6 separate regions of the Homo sapiens genome follow, and all the other regions are linked to region 5. The links are contacts of gene promoters, found by promoter capture Hi-C in human tissues and cell types (Jung and others, 2019). All regions are on one chromosome and are shown on one strand. Each heading gives the region's core, a stretch centred on a gene start or on the middle of the fragment in contact. The rest is flanking DNA. Distances are from core to core; before and after follow the strand shown. Region 1 has its middle 29 kb from the start of LINC00856. Region 2 has its middle 290 kb from the start of LINC00595. Region 3 has its middle 6.8 kb from the start of LINC00856. Region 4 has its middle 140 kb from the start of LINC00595. Region 5 holds the start of ZMIZ1 (zinc finger MIZ-type containing 1). Region 6 overlaps LOC124902468 (a long non-coding RNA gene).

What was found. Contacts are between HindIII fragments. The study calls those that stand out against the background at their distance.
Region 1: a fragment that was not itself captured here is called in contact with the fragment with the promoter of ZMIZ1 in region 5 in 1 of the 25 tissues and cell types used here (heart right ventricle).
Region 2: a contact is called between a fragment that was not itself captured here and the fragment with the promoter of ZMIZ1 in region 5, in 1 of the 25 tissues and cell types used here (dorsolateral prefrontal cortex).
Region 3: a fragment that was not itself captured here is called in contact with the fragment with the promoter of ZMIZ1 in region 5 in 1 of the 25 tissues and cell types used here (dorsolateral prefrontal cortex).
Region 4: a contact is called between a fragment that was not itself captured here and the fragment with the promoter of ZMIZ1 in region 5, in 1 of the 25 tissues and cell types used here (dorsolateral prefrontal cortex).
Region 6: a contact is called between a fragment that was not itself captured here and the fragment with the promoter of ZMIZ1 in region 5, in 2 of the 25 tissues and cell types used here (dorsolateral prefrontal cortex and spleen).

What each region holds. Positions count from the first base shown.
Region 1 is chr10:78,218,719-78,221,418 of GRCh38, reverse strand. No RefSeq gene overlaps it. Among named protein-coding and RNA genes, the nearest start is that of LINC00856, 29 kb to the left of the region's middle. The HindIII fragment of the contact is 4,517 bases long and covers 1-2,700 here.
Region 2 is chr10:78,551,178-78,553,877 of GRCh38, reverse strand. No RefSeq gene overlaps it. Among named protein-coding and RNA genes, the nearest start is that of LINC00595, 290 kb to the right of the region's middle. The HindIII fragment of the contact is 9,741 bases long and covers 1-2,700 here.
Region 3 is chr10:78,240,457-78,243,156 of GRCh38, reverse strand. No RefSeq gene overlaps it. Among named protein-coding and RNA genes, the nearest start is that of LINC00856, 6.8 kb to the left of the region's middle. The HindIII fragment of the contact is 7,188 bases long and covers 1-2,700 here.
Region 4 is chr10:78,403,963-78,406,662 of GRCh38, reverse strand. No RefSeq gene overlaps it. Among named protein-coding and RNA genes, the nearest start is that of LINC00595, 140 kb to the right of the region's middle. The HindIII fragment of the contact is 4,448 bases long and covers 1-2,700 here.
Region 5 is chr10:79,067,620-79,070,319 of GRCh38, reverse strand. It overlaps ZMIZ1 (zinc finger MIZ-type containing 1), which reads right to left and starts at 1,354. Exons shown (of 25, transcript NM_020338.4): 1 at 1,050-1,354. RefSeq lists enhancers at 344-393, 1,595-2,440, silencers at 594-1,573, 1,834-1,903 and a cis regulatory region at 1,036-1,721. The HindIII fragment of the contact is 18,402 bases long and covers 1-2,700 here.
Region 6 is chr10:78,325,470-78,328,169 of GRCh38, reverse strand. The region is part of intron 1 of LOC124902468 (a long non-coding RNA gene); the gene reads right to left. Among named protein-coding and RNA genes, the nearest start is that of LINC00595, 59 kb to the right of the region's middle. The HindIII fragment of the contact is 5,759 bases long and covers 1-2,700 here.

The DNA.
Region 1 (2,700 bases), core at 95-2,594, 850 kb after region 5:
ACACGTCTTTGTAATGAGAATTGGCGGTTAGGACAGCACTCATCCCTGTCTTCGAGGTAGGAACTTCAGGGAAGATAAGATGCTCAGCCCAGGCCCAAGGCCACCTCTCTTAGGAACAAGGTTCCTTTCCCTTGTTACTGCTGCTGTCAACAGCAAAGACAGTGTGGGAGGACAGGGGAGTGCCAGCTTGTGAGGTGAGCCACTGGCCTTCCAGCCTCAGCTTTCCCAAACTGTTTGGATGACCTCAAGAGAGTCTCCTTCCCTATCTGGTCCTCAGTTTCCCCCATGTGTACAATGTGGAGGTTAGCCTAGATCTGCAATGGCAAAGAACTGTCATTTTGTATGCCAACTGTAATCAATTGCTAGCGACTGCCTGGAGCACTCAGATGAGAATAATTCTGAGCTTAGCAGAGACACAATTGATTAGTGATGTCTGCCATAGGCACAAGTAGGAGTGGAGGTGGCATGTGTGCTACTCCATCCTTTATCTTCTGAGTCTTGACACCATGTGGGTCTCTGACCTGACTCCTTGGGTTTACACTGGACTCCAACCTGCGGTGTGCTGGAGGCAGCTCACACCCACTCCTGAGAGTCAAGTGTGCTCATCTCTTCCCAACTCTGCATTTGGTGATGTCACATTGGTATTGTGGAATCGGTCACGATGGGGACGTTTACAGGGAACCGTTAAACATTTTTGAGCACACTAGCTCTATCCCTCCCACAGCAGGCCAGGGCGGGGGGAGAGGGGAATCCAGGCAGCCCCCAACAGTCCTGAGCTCTATGGGAATCCGTGTCCCCTGGAGAGTGGCCAGTGCCAGCAGATGCTGGAATCCAGACTGTTCTATCACAGACTCACAACCCCTGCAGCCCACTTTATTCACAATCCTCATCACTGCTCTTGCTGCACAGAGCCCCATTCAGACACTCTACCCCATCTACCCTGGCACCACTCATCCCTTCTTCCTCCAGGAAGCCTTCTGAGACTGCATTCACAATTATTCCTCCCCCACTGAGCTCCCATTTCACTCTGTCTTTGTTGGTGCTGGAAGGAAAACTGCCTCTTTAGAACAGGTTCTCGGTTGAAGACTTACATCTCCTCCTTCCCCAGCACCCAGTCAAGACCCCACATAGGCATGGTCCTTGAATAGACATCCAGGGAGAGGCCAGCTGCGTTATCCACCACCTGGGGCACAGTCCTGACATGCCCACGGTAATCATCCCAACCAGCTCCTCATTTCCCAGATGGGGAAATGGAGGCCCACAACAACATACAACTGCCTGAGCAGCTGAGCTGACTCTCGAACTGAGGTCTCCAGACTCCCATTGTGTCCACAGTTGGTTCCTTCCAGTGGGTTCTTGGTCTCGCTGACTTCAAGAATGAAGCCACAGACCTTTGCGATGAGTGTTACAGCTCTTAAAGGTAGCACAGACCCAAACAAAGAGCAGCAGAAAGATTCATTGTGAAGAGCAAAAGAACAAAGCTTCCGCAAGCTGCAAAGGGACTCTAGCAGGTTGCCGCTGATGGTGGGGGTGGTCAACTTTTATTCCCTTATTTGTCCCCGCCCACATCCTGCTGATTGGTCCATTTTACAGAGTGCTGATTGGTCCACCTTACAGAGTGCTGATTGGCCCATTTTACAGAGTGCTGATTGGTGCATTTACAATCCTTTAGCTAGACACAGAGTGCTGATTGATGCATTTTTTACAGAGTGCTGATTGGTGCATTTACAATCTTTTAGCTAGACACAGAGTGCTGATTGGTGCGTTTACAATCCTCTAGCTAGACAGAAAAGTTCTCCAAGTCCCCACTCCACCCAGGAAGTCCAGCTGGCTTCACCTCTCACCATCACACTGCCTCGGGCACCCTCCCACCACACTGCCTTGGTGCCCTATCACAGAAGCCAGAGGCTATGGAAACAGAGACTGAAGCCCACAGGGGACAAGGGAGCTACCCAAGGTCACAGAGCAGCCTGGGAGCAGAGCCAGGCAGAAACCCAGGTCTCAGCAACCCTCTACGCCAGCATCCTTGCCTTTCCCTTCACACCACCCTGACCTGCCAAACCAGGCCTTGACACCCCAGGGCAGGGCTCTGGGGCACAGCCTCCACCTTTCTCTCCACCTCCAGGGTTAGACAGCACCAAACTACAGGGTCACCCAGCAACCAGGGGGCCACTCTCTCCAGCAGGCTGCAAAGCCCGGGCTGCATTTGGGGCCATCTCCTCCCACCTCTCTTTCCTCCGGCTGCTGCTTAACATGCACACGGGAACCTCTAAGCTGAGCGTATAGATTTCTCTTTGTCTTTGGTGGTAATTATTAGCTGTCTCGGCGGGTGAATGCAGGCAGAAACAAAGGCAGCAAGGGTTGTAAAACCTTTTATCTCGATCAGGCCGCATTATTTGATAAGGTGCTAAGCTAATAGCAACGCATGTCAAATTGTGTTTAGACAGATCGAGGGGCTGGGAATGGAGGGTATATTTGTCTCCGGAAACCTGCACCTGGAAGGATAAAAAGAAAGGCGCACTGATATTCGCAGCCCCGGGCTGAATGCAGACAGCCAAGCCTCTGGGACTCCTGGCTGAAAGACTCCTGGAAAGGGGGCAAAATGAGAGGCTGAGAAGGGAGAGAGTGGGCCGGTACTGTGCTTATTCCCATTCAAGCCCACCTCGGGGCCCTTGCCTGGAGACCCACAGGTTCCCACCA
Region 2 (2,700 bases), core at 181-2,680, 520 kb after region 5:
TGTGTGTGTATTCATATGTGTGTGTATGTATGCTCTAAAAATGTTCATAGTTTTGACACGGTAAATCTCCTTTAAATATATTCTGAAGAAATATTCAGAAACTCAGGCAGATGTAGGCAGAAAGATATTTATTAAAGCATTGTTCATAGTAGCAAAGTTACATGCAACCTAAATATTCAACCATAGATTACCTCAATAAAGAAAGCCTTGTCCACATATTAGAATATATACACTAATAAAAGTGGTAGTGTCAAATAATATTTAGTAAAATGCTTATGACATATTACTGCTGATTATATAGCTCTATGCATTGATAAAAGACTGAAAGGAAAACCATCAAATTCCTAGCAGTGGCTATCATTAGGTGATGTGATTACAATTCATGTTTTATTTTTTTCCTGTATCTTTTCATATTTTCCATGTTCTCCATGATGAGCTTGCATTGTTTTCTTTTGTAATGAGGTAGCAGGGGTGGGAAAAGGTTATTTTTAAATGGGAGAAAGCAACATTTTGTTTTTAAAAAGATATTATTTTTGAGAGAAATAGCACCACTCCAAGTTCCCAAATCTTGACATCAGGGAGAAAGCTGTTTCCTACAGAGCTGCACACCTAGGAATCCTAGGTCCTGAACCCCTCCGTAAGCCCCAGAGGTCCAGACATTTTTGTTGCTGGTGGGTTGGCCTGAGGCACCTTCTTACCTTTCTTCCTAGCTGGGCCAGCTGCTAGGCTTCCAAGCAGGGAGTGTGTTTGCAGGATTCAGGGAGGCCTTCAGGGAGTATGGGGGTGGTAGCCAGCCCAGGGCCGAATCTCTGCAGTTCCTTCTCCACTTGTCTCCATCTTTAGCACTATTTCTGCTTCCTACTCTCTGCCTTCCCAGGCGCCTGTATCTCCCTGATCTGATCTCTTCTTGCCTCAATTTCCGTTTGTCTCTCTCATGCCCCTGTCTCTGTTCTCTCAGTCTCCCTCTAGATCTGCCTCTCCCGGTGTCTACCTCTAGCCCCCATCCCCAGGCAGACGCTGCCTCCAGCTCTCTGCCCCCTCCTGCCACGCTGCTGCTGAGCTTGGCAGGACGCTGAAGGTGATGGGCTGCAGCCTGTCGAGGGCCCGGAAGCTGTTACTATTACCGGGAGCTGCTTCTGTCAGGAGAATGTTCTCACATGTCACAAATCAGAAGAGGGTGTCTTCACTTCCTTCTGCCTGATCTCAACAAATTCCACATATAGTCCCCGCACGACTGCTGACCCCTCCCCCTACATCCCCAAGTGCAAGTAGCAGGCAGGAGGCTTTCTGAAAGCTGTCCTGAGAACATGTAAAGTCACCAAGGGGACAGATTGGAGGAGTCATACTCTGAATTCTGATCAGTAGAGAGGTCTGCCCTCACCCTCCCACCCCCACCCCTGCAGAGCAGTCTACAGCAAGCATACTGTGCTGAAAAACATCTCCCGGAGCCAAGAACAGCAGGCCTTGGTCTGGAAGCTGACATACTTGCTAAGCACTCCTTAGAAGACCTGACTCTGGGAAGGAAGCCACCAGGGCAGGCTGAACTTGGAGGGGGAGGGCCCTCACATCTGGGTTTGGCTGCTCCTCTTCTGCTGGAAAAACTCAAAGCCATCCATCTAGAGACTCCCAGGAACATGTCCCCAGCTCCCAGCTCCCCGGTGAAGCTCAGGCTGCTGTGTTTGGTAATTCAGGAAAAGACAATGCTAAGGAAGTATGTGGAGTTGTGGTAGGGGGATGAGAAGAAAATGGCATGGCCCAGTGAACAGAGACCTTGTCTGGGGAGAATGGTCCCTGAGGCTAATAGGTGAGGCCTGGCTGGAGCCAGCTTCTTAGGTACCAGGGATGCATCAAAGGGCTACCCCCAGGAGGAACACTGCACTGGGCTCTGTTTTGTTGGGTTTTGGTTTGTTTTTCCTTTACTGACTCCCTGCTTCCCCCACCTTCCCTCCTGCCCATGCACATGCTCTGACCCTGGACAAAGAACTTCCCTTTAGTTTCCCAACCTGCAGGATGAGATAGGAGTTTCATAGTAATCTGCCCCCAAAGTCCAGGAAAATGCCCTAGGAGCTGCCAGCAATAGTGAAAGGCCCTTCCCCACCGCAGCCCCTGGGGCCCTGCATTGTAAATTTCGAGGTTCAGTCCTTGGAGGGAAGTCAGCCTTTAGGATAGTGGGCTAGAGAAGAACAAACCCTCGCTCACCAACACTACCAAGCTCCCAGGGTTCTCCAGCCTTGTGATGTGGCCTCCTCGGCGCCTCACCACGGTGCGTAGTTGAGGGGGCAAAAAACCCAGCTCTCTAGAAATAGTTGTCATCTGTTTTAACCTTTGTTACTTCAACTGTGAAATGAAAGCGGCCTGGGCTAGAGGATCAAAGTAGGACTGAAGGTGGAGGATTTGCCCCAGGGCAGAAAGCCAGTGAATGGCAGATGATTTGAATTAGAAAGTGCTGTGGGGGTGGGGGCAGGGATCCACTTGTAGGTTTCCCTTCAAACAATGGGAGGCGGTTTTGTGGGCAAGTGTGCTGGTGCGAGAGGGGGTGCACACTAACATGTTAATCCTTTGGGAGGCCTTACAGTGAAATGAAATTGGTAAAATCAGCTTTTAAGTTATTAAGTGGGTACTTTAGACATTTACTTCTCTGAGAATTGAGTGCAAATAGTAGTAGACACAGAGAAGCTATTTGTTGAATGAATTGAATGA
Region 3 (2,700 bases), core at 173-2,672, 830 kb after region 5:
ACGTTGGCCCCTTTCAACCATGGCTGGAGCTGCTGGGACACAGAGCACCAAGTCCCTAAGCTCCACACAGCATGGGTACCCAGGGCCAGGTCTATGAAACCAATTTTTCCTCCTGGGCCTCCAGGTCTGTGATGGGAGGGACTGCCGTGAAGGTCTCTGACATGGCCTGGAGACATTTTCCCCATGGTCCTGGGGAGTCACATTAGGCTCCTTGCGACTTATGCAAATTTCTGCAGTCAGCTTGAATTTCTCCTCAAAAAATGGGTTTTTCTTTTCTACTGCATAATCAGGCTGCACATTTTTTGAACTTTTGTACTGTTTCCCTTTTAAAATGGAGTGCTTTTAACAGTACCCAAGTCACCTCTTGAATGCTTTTTTGCTTAGAAATTTCTTCTGCAGATACCCTAAATCATCTCTCTCAAGTTTAAAGTTCCACAGATCTCTAGGGCAGGAGCAAAATGCCACCAGTCTCTTTGCTGAAACATAACAAGAGTCACCTTTGCACCAGTTCCCAACGAGTTGCTCATCTCTATCTGAGACCACCTCAGCCTGGACCTTGTTGTCCATATTGCTATCAGGCTTTTGGTCAAAGCTATTCAACAAGTCTCTAGGAAATTCCAAACTTTCCCAAATTTTTCTGTCTTCTTCTGAGCCCTCCAAAACTGTTCCAGCCTCTGCCTGTTACCCAGTTCCAAAGTTGCTTCCACATTTTCAGGTATCTTTTCAGCAACTCCCCACTCTACTGGTACCAATTTACTGTATTAGTCCATTTTTGCACTGCTGATAAAGACATACCAAAGACTGGGAAGAAAAGGAGGTTTAATCTGACTTACAGTTCCACATGGCTGGGGAGGTCTCATAATCATGGCGGAGGATGAAAGACATTTCTTACATGGCAGCAGCAAGAGAGAAATGAGGAAGAAGCAAAAGTGGAAACCCCTGATAAACCCATCAGATCTCATGAGACTTATTCACTATCACGAGAATAGCATGGGAAAGACAGGCCCCCATAATTCAGTCACCTCCCCCTGGGTCCTTCCCACAACATGTGGGAATTCTGGGAGGTACAATTCAAGTTGAGATTTGAATGGGGACACAGCCATACCATATCAGTACATATATATATATATATATATAAAATAGATGCAAGTGTGTGAATGTATGCTTACGTGTGTGTCCACTGAGAGAACCTGGGAGCTGGAGCTGTGGCACTCCAATAGTAATGAGCACACCTAGGACCCAGATCTTGTCTTCTAAATACCATTCTCCACTAAAAGGAACAAGGACTCCCTGGAGAAACAGCTGATTCCAAAGCTAAGGAGGAGTACCTTGGTTTACCAAAAATTAAAGAATGTTCAAAGAATGATGGGGACAAAATCAAAGAGATACAGAAGCCCACTTGAAGGGGCACCTACTGGTTAAATCCAGGACAGCTTGAGCACCAGAATAAATAATGATATTAATGGATTATAACGAATTGCATCAAACAGAAATCCATGAGTTTATATAGACAAAATATACAAATGAATAAATTGAAAGTTTAGGAGGAACAAGATATTTACACAGTCTCAAAGTACCTCTTCATTTAAAAAAAAGTATTAATTACAAACGAGAAAAAGTAACTTTACAGTGGAAAAAACTGGCAGAAACCATCTTCAAGTGATCAAAGCTTCACTCTCCAGTAAGGAGAGAAATCAAAATCCCACGTGATATGAAGGGATGCAACAAGGAGAACTCAGCATCACTTCTGATATTCCTGCCAAATATGAATAAGCTGAAGCAAGTCCTGAAAAAACTTCAGAAAAACCCACTGACAGATGTTCAAGAAAATAACTGACCTGTACTCTGCAATAGTGCCAAGGTCATGAAAGTCAAGGAAAGCCTGAGGAACTGTCCCAGATAAAGGAGAATGAAGAGACATGACAACTAAATGCAAATGTGATTCTGAACCGGATCTTTCTGCTGCAAAGGACATTGTTGGGACAATTGGCAAAAGTTGAATGGTGTCTGAGGAATAGTTGGTCTTCATGTACAAGGTCAGCATCCTGATACTGATGGTCATATTAGGTTATGTCAGAAAATGTCCTTGCTTGTAGGAAATGTGCACTAAAGTATCCAGGGATGATGAGGCATTGGGTCAACAACTTACTGTCAAATGGGTTTAGAAAAAAAAAGTTCTTTATACTCTACTTGCAACTTTTCTTGCTTTATTTTTTTTATTATTATTTTTTTTTAGACAGAGTCTCACTCTTTTGCCCAGGCTGGAGTGCAATAGTACAATCTCAGCTCACTGCAACCTCCACCTCCTGGGTTCAAGCGATTCTCACCTGAGTAGCTGAGATTCGAGGTGCGTGCCACCATGCCCAGCTAATACTTGCAACTTTTCTATAAGCTTGAGATTATTTCAAAATAAAAGTAAACGCTGGGAGCAGTGACTGATGCCTGTAATCCCAGCACTTTGGGAGGCCGAGGCAGGCAGATTGCTTGAGCTCGGGAGTTCGAGACCAGCCTGCCAACATGGCAAAAACCTGTCTCTACTAAAAATACAAAAATTAGCCGGGCATGGTGATGGGCGCCTATAGTCCCAGCTTCACAGGATGCTGAAGTGGGAGATCACTTGAACCTGGGAGGTGGAAGTTGCAGTGAGCCGAGATCATGCCACTGCACTCCAGCCTGGGAGACAGAGCAAAATGCTGTTTC
Region 4 (2,700 bases), core at 156-2,655, 660 kb after region 5:
CCCCAAGACTTCTATAATCCATCTCACTCCCCTATTCCACAGGCGCTCCCCACTGCTGTTCCATAAGGGCAGGGGCGGTATTCATTCTCCTCACTCCAGGGTCCCCCAAGACTAAGCGCATTGCCCAATATCCTAGGAGGCATTGCAAGAAAGAATTTGCTGAACAAGAATTTGTTAAATGAATGAAAGGAAAGCAGGAAGGGAGAAAAGAAAGGAGCAAGGGCTCCTTGCCGAAGGGAAGTTAGACCTCCAAAGAGCAGAGTAAAGGGAGCCGGGAGGGTTGGTGAGCGCCGGGACAGCCACAACAATTTGTTCCCCCCCTTTTACCCCAGGGGGTTAAAATCTTGCTGCACCAGGATGGGGTTGTCCTTTCTCAGAGCCTGGGAATGAAACATGATAAGGGGTCTCCAAGGTCACCCAGTCCCTTCTCCTTCCGTGGGAGCCTCTCTGCAGAGCCTAGATGGGCAGTTAGGTCTTCTGCTCAGCCACCTCCAGTGACAAGGTAGTCACTCCCCATCATGATCACCCATGTGAAGTAGCCTCTGCCTCCCCAGAACTGGAACCATCCCAAAGAGAAGGATTAGGAGCATGGGCAAAGTCCAGCAATGCACTCAGCCACCCGGTATCCTCAGGGTGGAAACCAGCTCTCCAGCCCCCGGGTCTCCTCCCCTTGGAGAACCCTTGCACTGCTCTATCAGGAATCGGCATTCCCTCCCCACTCAGCCTGGCTGTCTGCTCTGGCCTCGCACCAGTCGCTTAATGCCACTCCTTGAGTTTGGAGCCCAGAACTAAACACGCCTCTCCCAGGAGTCTTGAAGGGAAACCAGCCAAATGTGAAGGAAGCTGAAGAGGACAATGAATGTGCCCATGCTCATTCCAGGGATGGACTTCATTAGCTGGAGAAAGAGATATTTTCTAGAGCTGCCACTGGGCTTGGCGAAGGCCAGTCTCAGGCAGGGGTTGGGGCTTGTCCCATGCCCCATACTAAGGATCTATCATCTTGATTTTCCAAGCCCACCATCAAGGTCCATCTGGAAAGAATGGAGAAAAGCCTGAACTAGGAACGTGTTATGACCCCACCTGTTTCTCTTCCGTCCCTGAAAGCAGCGCCTCTACCCCACATTCCCTCCCATGAAAACAGACTCTCAGGAGAGACGATGGACCTCAGTCTGCCTGGGGTAGGTGATTAATAACATTGTAATGCATCATCCTTCCAGAGGGATTGGCACTGGCAGGATCCAGGATTTAAGCTAAAGTAGCAAAGCAATAATGAGGGGATTTCAGGCCCTGACCAGCAGCTGGGGATGAAGCACAGCCCTGGGAATCTTCCCAGTATCTTTGAGACCATTCATAAGTCATCAACAGTAGAGATGCCGGCCTGGGTTTTTTCAGGTTGGCCACTTGCTTGCTGTGTGGACACATCACTGAACCTTTCTGACCGAGTTTCATCTGTGCAATGTGGATAATACTTCTACTCTCATCAAATTGTTGTGAAGAGCAAATGAAATAATGGAGGTCAGCCACCTGGCACAGAATGGGTGCTCCATCACCATTTCCTTGCTTCCGTCTTCCATGTACTAAGCATCTAGACCATTTTCATGGAGTAGACCATACAGGGACCAGGATGTAGGGTGTGTGTAAAGGCATTATACCTGTGCACTTGAAACTAGTTATTCCCCACAGTCTGAGGAAACTAGACCTTGAAACAGTCCCAACCTTCCCTCTGTCTTTTGCCCCAGAGCAGTGTGCAAATTGAAGAAAGCATCTCAGAGGCTAGTGGGCCTTACAATGGAGATCATGTGGTTCCCACCTCCAAGTCCGTTCCTCTACATCCTGAGAAATCATAGGCTGGGGGCTCTCTGGAGTCACCCTTTGGAGACAGAGAAGTGGTCAGCAGTCACTTCTTCCTCCAGTTGGCACCAAGTCCAACTTGGTGTTGTTTATCTGTTGCCACCATAAAGCTTGGTGACTTCAAACAAACATTTATCACCATCTCTCATGTTTCTGCGGGTTTACTGGGTTCAGCTGAGCAGCTCACGCACCAGGTCTCACATGGGATTGCAGTCAGATGTCCACTGGGGCTGGCATCATCTGAAGGTTTGGCCCATCTGGGTATCCCAAAAGGCTCACTCACGTGGCTGGGCTGTTGCAGGGAACTCAGCCGAGGCTGTCCACCAGAGCACCTACACATGGCCTCTTCTATGGCTTTGCCATCTCATAGTATGGAGGCTGGCTTCCCAGAAGGAGCATCCCAAGAGAGAATTCTAAAGGCCCCGGGCAGAAGCTGCAAAGCTTCTTATGGCTTAACCTTGGAAGTCTCAGAACATCCCTTCCATCCCACTGTATTGATCAAGTAGGCTCAAGCCCACATTCAAGGTGGGGGAGATGGGAGTCTGCATCTTCATGGGGGAGGGGCAAGTTCACACTGCAGAAGGAAATGTGGCATGGTGACAGTGTGGTGAGCATCTCTGGAAAGTTCTATGTTTCATGTGCATCAACCTACCCCTCCCAGGCAACAGAACGCGTGCTAACTGGGGAGAAGAGTAAGCACTGTCCAAAGAGTCGGACCAGGCCATATCTTGCAGCTGCCTGGGGCCAGCCAGCTGTCACTTATACCAACAAAGTAGCAGCTAAGTCCCAACAGGCTGCTAGTGTCTCCCCATCTGCTTTAAGGGTTGTAGTAAGGACAAAAGGAGATTA
Region 5 (2,700 bases), core at 105-2,604:
GCACCGCGCCCTATCCCCGCCCGGCCGGCTTCCTGGACAGATGTCCCCAGCGAGGGGGCGACGCGCGCCCGCTGCCCGCGCCCTAGACGCCGAGGCCGCGCTCCCCACTGTTTTTTCCCCAGCCCAGACGCCAGGAATGTGAAGCAAGCTTCCAGAACCCGCCTCCCCCCCCCGACCCCGGCTCCAGCCCCGGCCCCCCAACCTCCGCCCCGGCTGGCCTCCCACTCCCCCGGGGCCACCGCCGCCGGAGACGGAGAGGAAGAAAGAACACGGGGAAATTACTTTCGTATTTGCAACGCGCGCGCGCACACACACGCACATCTTCCCCCTGGGCTCCCCTCCTGGCCGGGGCAGCCCCGTCCAGGCACTGGCCTGAGCGCCCCTCTGGCTTGCGAAGCCCTGGGAGAAAACCCTGCACACACACCTCCGCGTTTCTCGTTTGTACCGCGCGCCAGCTTTCCCCGGGCAATTCCCACACAAACAACTTAACCGCGCCCCCACCTCCCATTTACAAAAGTGTATGTTTTCCCTGGAAATTCAGACGCACAAGTTAACACCACCACCCCTTGCCATCCTGAAATCCAGCGCTTTCCCCAGCGGTTCCTGTACACACACAGGCGCACAACTTCGCATCTCCCCAGAGGAGGCGAAGGAGACCGAGGCGGTCCTTCCCTCCCTCCTCCGATTCCCGGTCCTGCCCGGCCCCCGGGTGTAGGGAGCGAGGGCTGGAGGCGCGCCGGCAGGAGGCGGGCACCGGGTCCGCGCGCGCACGACCACACTTACGCCCCGCACACCCTGACAAACCCGGCCCCCACGCGCAGCCCAAGCCGGCTCCGCGCAGCCGGGAGCTCGCCGGCCGCCGGGCCTCGGCCCCCGGCCGCCAAGGAGAGCGGAGCGGAGCCCGCGCCGCCGGCCGGTCGCCCCGCTCCGGGGGACACTTTAAGGGAAAAACCCCAGCACCCAATCCCCACGCTTGCACCCCGAGAGTCCCCGGGGAGCGGGAGGTAGCCCCGGAGCCAGCGGGCGCCTGGCTCTGGCCCCAAACTTACCGGGCGCTGCGAGCGCCGCTGCCGCCGCTGGAGGACGCGCCGCCGCCACCGCCGGGTAGGGCAGGCTCGGGCCGGGAGGAGCGCAGCGAGGGCGCCGAGATCCGCTCGGCTCCGGCTCCTGCTCCGCGCCGGCTGGGGCTGGGGTCACCGCGCTGCGCCGGCGTTGCTCGCTCGCTCGGCCGCCCGATCGCTGCTCGCCCGCCTGCCGCCCGGCCGCCCGCTCTCCCCGGCGCCCGCCGCCGCCGCTCGCTTTTTTAATGTCCACAGACAGTGAAAAGGAACTCGGCGTTAGGGGGTGAGTAAGTGAATCAACTCGCCCGGAGCCGAGCAAGTTGAAGTGTCAGATTACATTGGCTATTCTATTTCCAAAGGGCCCCGCGCCGCCGGCCGCCCGCAAAAGCCGGTGCGGAGTCAGGCCGGAGTGGAGCGCCGCGCCGCGCCGCCGCCGCTGCCGGCGCTCGGCTTGGCTCGCGCTCTGCGCTCTCTTTCCCCTTTCCTTTTCGCCTCTCCTCGTTCTCTCCCTCGCCTTTCCTTTCCTTTCTCTTCCTCTCTTCCTCGCTCCTCGGTCTCGGCGCTCTCCCAGCTTTTCTTCTCCTGGCTCCTGGTTCCCCGCTACGCCACCAGTCCACTCACCTCTCTCCTTGCCCTACTCCCTCCGCTACTCCCTGACGCCCCCTGCAGCCCCCAGCCCCCCTGCAGGCCCCAGCCCCAGTAAGTTTGGAGAGGGGAACAAATGCTGAGCCTAGGTAGGGACCACCTTGGGGAGGAAGCCAAAATCACACTGCTCACCCGAGAGCCCCTGCCCCGCGCTGGCACGCCCCCGCCTGGAGTGCACTCGTGGCCCCGGGCGCTGTCAGGTACCCGAATTGGGGTAAGCGAGTTGGTAACTGGACCTCCAAAGCCTTCCCCTGGGGTTGACTTTGGAATTGTTCCTACAGCCCGGGGACTGGTGGTTGGGGTGGGAAGAGGACCACCACCACCAAGGGTGACTTTGAGGGAGACTAGAGCGCGGCCCCCCGACAGCTGTGGGGGAGCGGGGGTGTGGTGGCCACAGTTGATCCGCGGCACCTAGCACAGTCCAGAGACGCGTGGATTCCCCTAGGCCCGGCGCGGAGCGCCCGGGGCGCTGTGCGCGCGGGCTGCGTGGGAGCTGCTAGGCTGGGGCCTGGCCCTCTGCCCCGGACTGGGCACTGCCAGAGATAGCGGAGAGCTAAGGTACTCACGAGGCGCAGTTGGGTGCACCCACTCGCGGGAGTTCCCCTAGCCGACCCACCCCCCCCCCCCGAGAGCATCCAACTACGCGCCCACTTTGGCTCACGTCCACTGCCACTCTCACGGAAACTCCTACAAGAACGGCACACACGTTCGCTCCCTCAGCATTGCAAACACGCTCCCCCCCAAACCACAAACGCGCCCCCACACACTCGCTTACTTTCCCTCACAAAGATGCCCGCTTACACGGCCACAGCAGGCACGCTCAGAGACACGCAGTTACACACACACATCGCTGTACACAACCCCACATACAATCAAAAAACAAAACACGAAACGTTCCCCTGGGCACTAAATCCTCACGTTAACGTACACACACAAACACACGCCCTCCTCTCCCACTTCCTCTTCCATACCCCTTCCTCGAGGCCCCCCACCC
Region 6 (2,700 bases), core at 195-2,694, 740 kb after region 5:
ACAAACCATCTGGGCGTCTGGGGATTGACCCACCTTGTACACCATTCCCAGTGCCCACATACACACCTTCCAGGGACCTGAAGACAGGTCCGTCCTGACCACCTCAACTACCTGAATGCACTGACTGGAGGCCTGGGGATAGGCCCATCCTGCCAGCCACCAGCACCCATGTGTGCCTCTCTGGAGTCCAGGGACTAGTGTATCTAGTCTGCCTCTGCCACCACCACTGGCACCCACCTGCCCACCACTGCTCATGCCTGCACATGCTGCTTGGAGGCCCAAGAGTTGGCCCTCCACCACTGCTGCCACCACAAATAAATACTACACACACCAACCAGGGGCTCAAAGACATGCCCACATACTTGGCCCACTGCTGCCAATTCTGGCATCCAAACAAGCTGCCTGGTGGCCTAAGGACTGGCCCACTTGGACCCATGACCAACAACACCCACATACACTATCAGGGGCCTGAGGACCAGCATGCTCAGCCTGCTGCCACCACCACTGGGTACCAAAGGACTGGCCTGCCTAGCATCCCTGTCCCTAGTAAAGTCTTGCCACAGCCCCTACTAATGACCACTGCCTAAGCCACCGAGGAACTCACAAACACCACTGATGCTGATTACAGATGAAGAAATCATACAAAGACCACACTACTGCAACTATCCAGAATCAAAGCCAAAACACCCTACCCAACCAACACTATAGATACACCTATGGAAAAAAAGTCTTTTCCTACAAAAGCCAATCTATAAAATTGGAAGATGTAATTATTAAATTAAATGTGCAGATATCAATGTAAAAACACATGAAAATGCAAGGAAAATGACACCTCCAAAGGAATACAATAAGCCTCTAGTAATAGTTCCCAACAAAAAGGAAATCTATAAAACACCTGAAAAAGAATTTAAAATAATTATATTTAAGAAACTCGGTGAGATATAAGAGAACACAGAGAAGCAATACATATAAGTCAGAAAAACAATTTATGATCTGAATGAGAAGTTCAACAAAGAGATAAGCATAATTTAAAAAAAAAGAAATTCTGAAAATGAAAAATTCAATAAATAAAATTTAAAAACAATTGAGAGTTAAAACAATAGGCTAGATTAAGCAAAAGAATGTTGAAATAACCCAGTCAGACAAAACAAGAAAAGAAAAAAGAATGAAAAAACCTACATGATATATAGGACACCATAAAGTGATCATATAGTCAAATTTTAGGATTTACTGGAGAAGATATGGGCAATAGTATAGAAAACCTATTTAATGAAATAATAGCTGAAAATTTCCCATGTCTTACAAGAAATATAGACAGATACAGGAAGCTCAAAAATCTCCAAAAAGATTAAACTCAAAAAGTCTTCTCCAAAGCATATTATAGCCAAACCATCAAAAGTCAAAGATAAAAAGAGAATTCTAAAAAACAGCAAAAGAGTCAAGTCACATATAAGGAAGTCCAATTCAACTAACAGTGGATTTCTTAGCCAAAACCTTACAGAACGGGAGAGAATAAAATGACATATTCAAAGAGCTGAAAGAAAAAAAAAAACTGCCAGCCAAGAATACTTTAACAAGCAAAGCTATCCTTCAAACATGAAGGAGAAATAAAATCTTTCCTAGACAAGAAAAACTGAGGGAATTTATCACCACTAGACCAGGCCTATAAGAAATGCTCAAGGAAGCCCTACATCTGGAAGGAAAAGAACAGTACCTACCACCATAAAAACACACAAAAGTATAAAACTCATTTGTAGACCAGATATAAAAGTGACAAAAAGAGAAAGAGAAATGAGTCAAATATTACCACTACAGAAAACCACCAAACTGCAAAAAAACAATGAGAGGAAGAAACTAACAAAGGATATACAAAATAATGATAAAACAATTAACAAAATGACTTGAATACATCCTCACCTGTCAATAATAACCTTAAATGTAAATAGATTAAATTCCCTACTTCAAAGATACAGACTGGCTAAAGGGGAAAAAAGAAACATGAACCAACTATGTATTTGCTACAAGAAATTCACTTCACTTGTAAAGATACACACAAACTGAAAGTGAAGAGATGAAAAAAATATATTCCACACAAATGGAAATCAAAAGTGTGCAAGAGTAGTTAGATAAAACAGACTAATGATCTTTGTCTCTTTTTATCATTTTTGACTTAAAGATGATTATATGATGATAAAGTGATCAATTCAGCAAGAAGCTGTAACAATTATAAATATATATACACCCAACACCACAGCAGTATTACTACAAATAATAATAGTTGAGGACTTGAACACCTCACTCTCAGTTTTATAGGGATCATCTAGACTGAAAATCATCAAAGAAATATTGGATTTAAACTGCACTTTAGGCCAAATGAACCCAACAGACATTTACAGAACATTTCATCCAACAATGGCAGAATACACGTTTTTCTCATCAGCACATGGAACATTCTCTAGGATAGACCATAGGTAAGAACACAAAACAAGTCTCAACAAATTTTTAAAAATCAAAATTACATCAGGTATCTTCTCAGACAACAATGGAATAAAACTAGAAATCGATAACAAAAAGAAACTTTAGAAACTATAAAAATACTTGGAAATTAAATAACATGCTCCTGAACAACCAATGGACCAATGAAAAAATTAAGAAGAAAATTTAAAAATTTTTTGAAACAAATGAAAATAAAAACACATC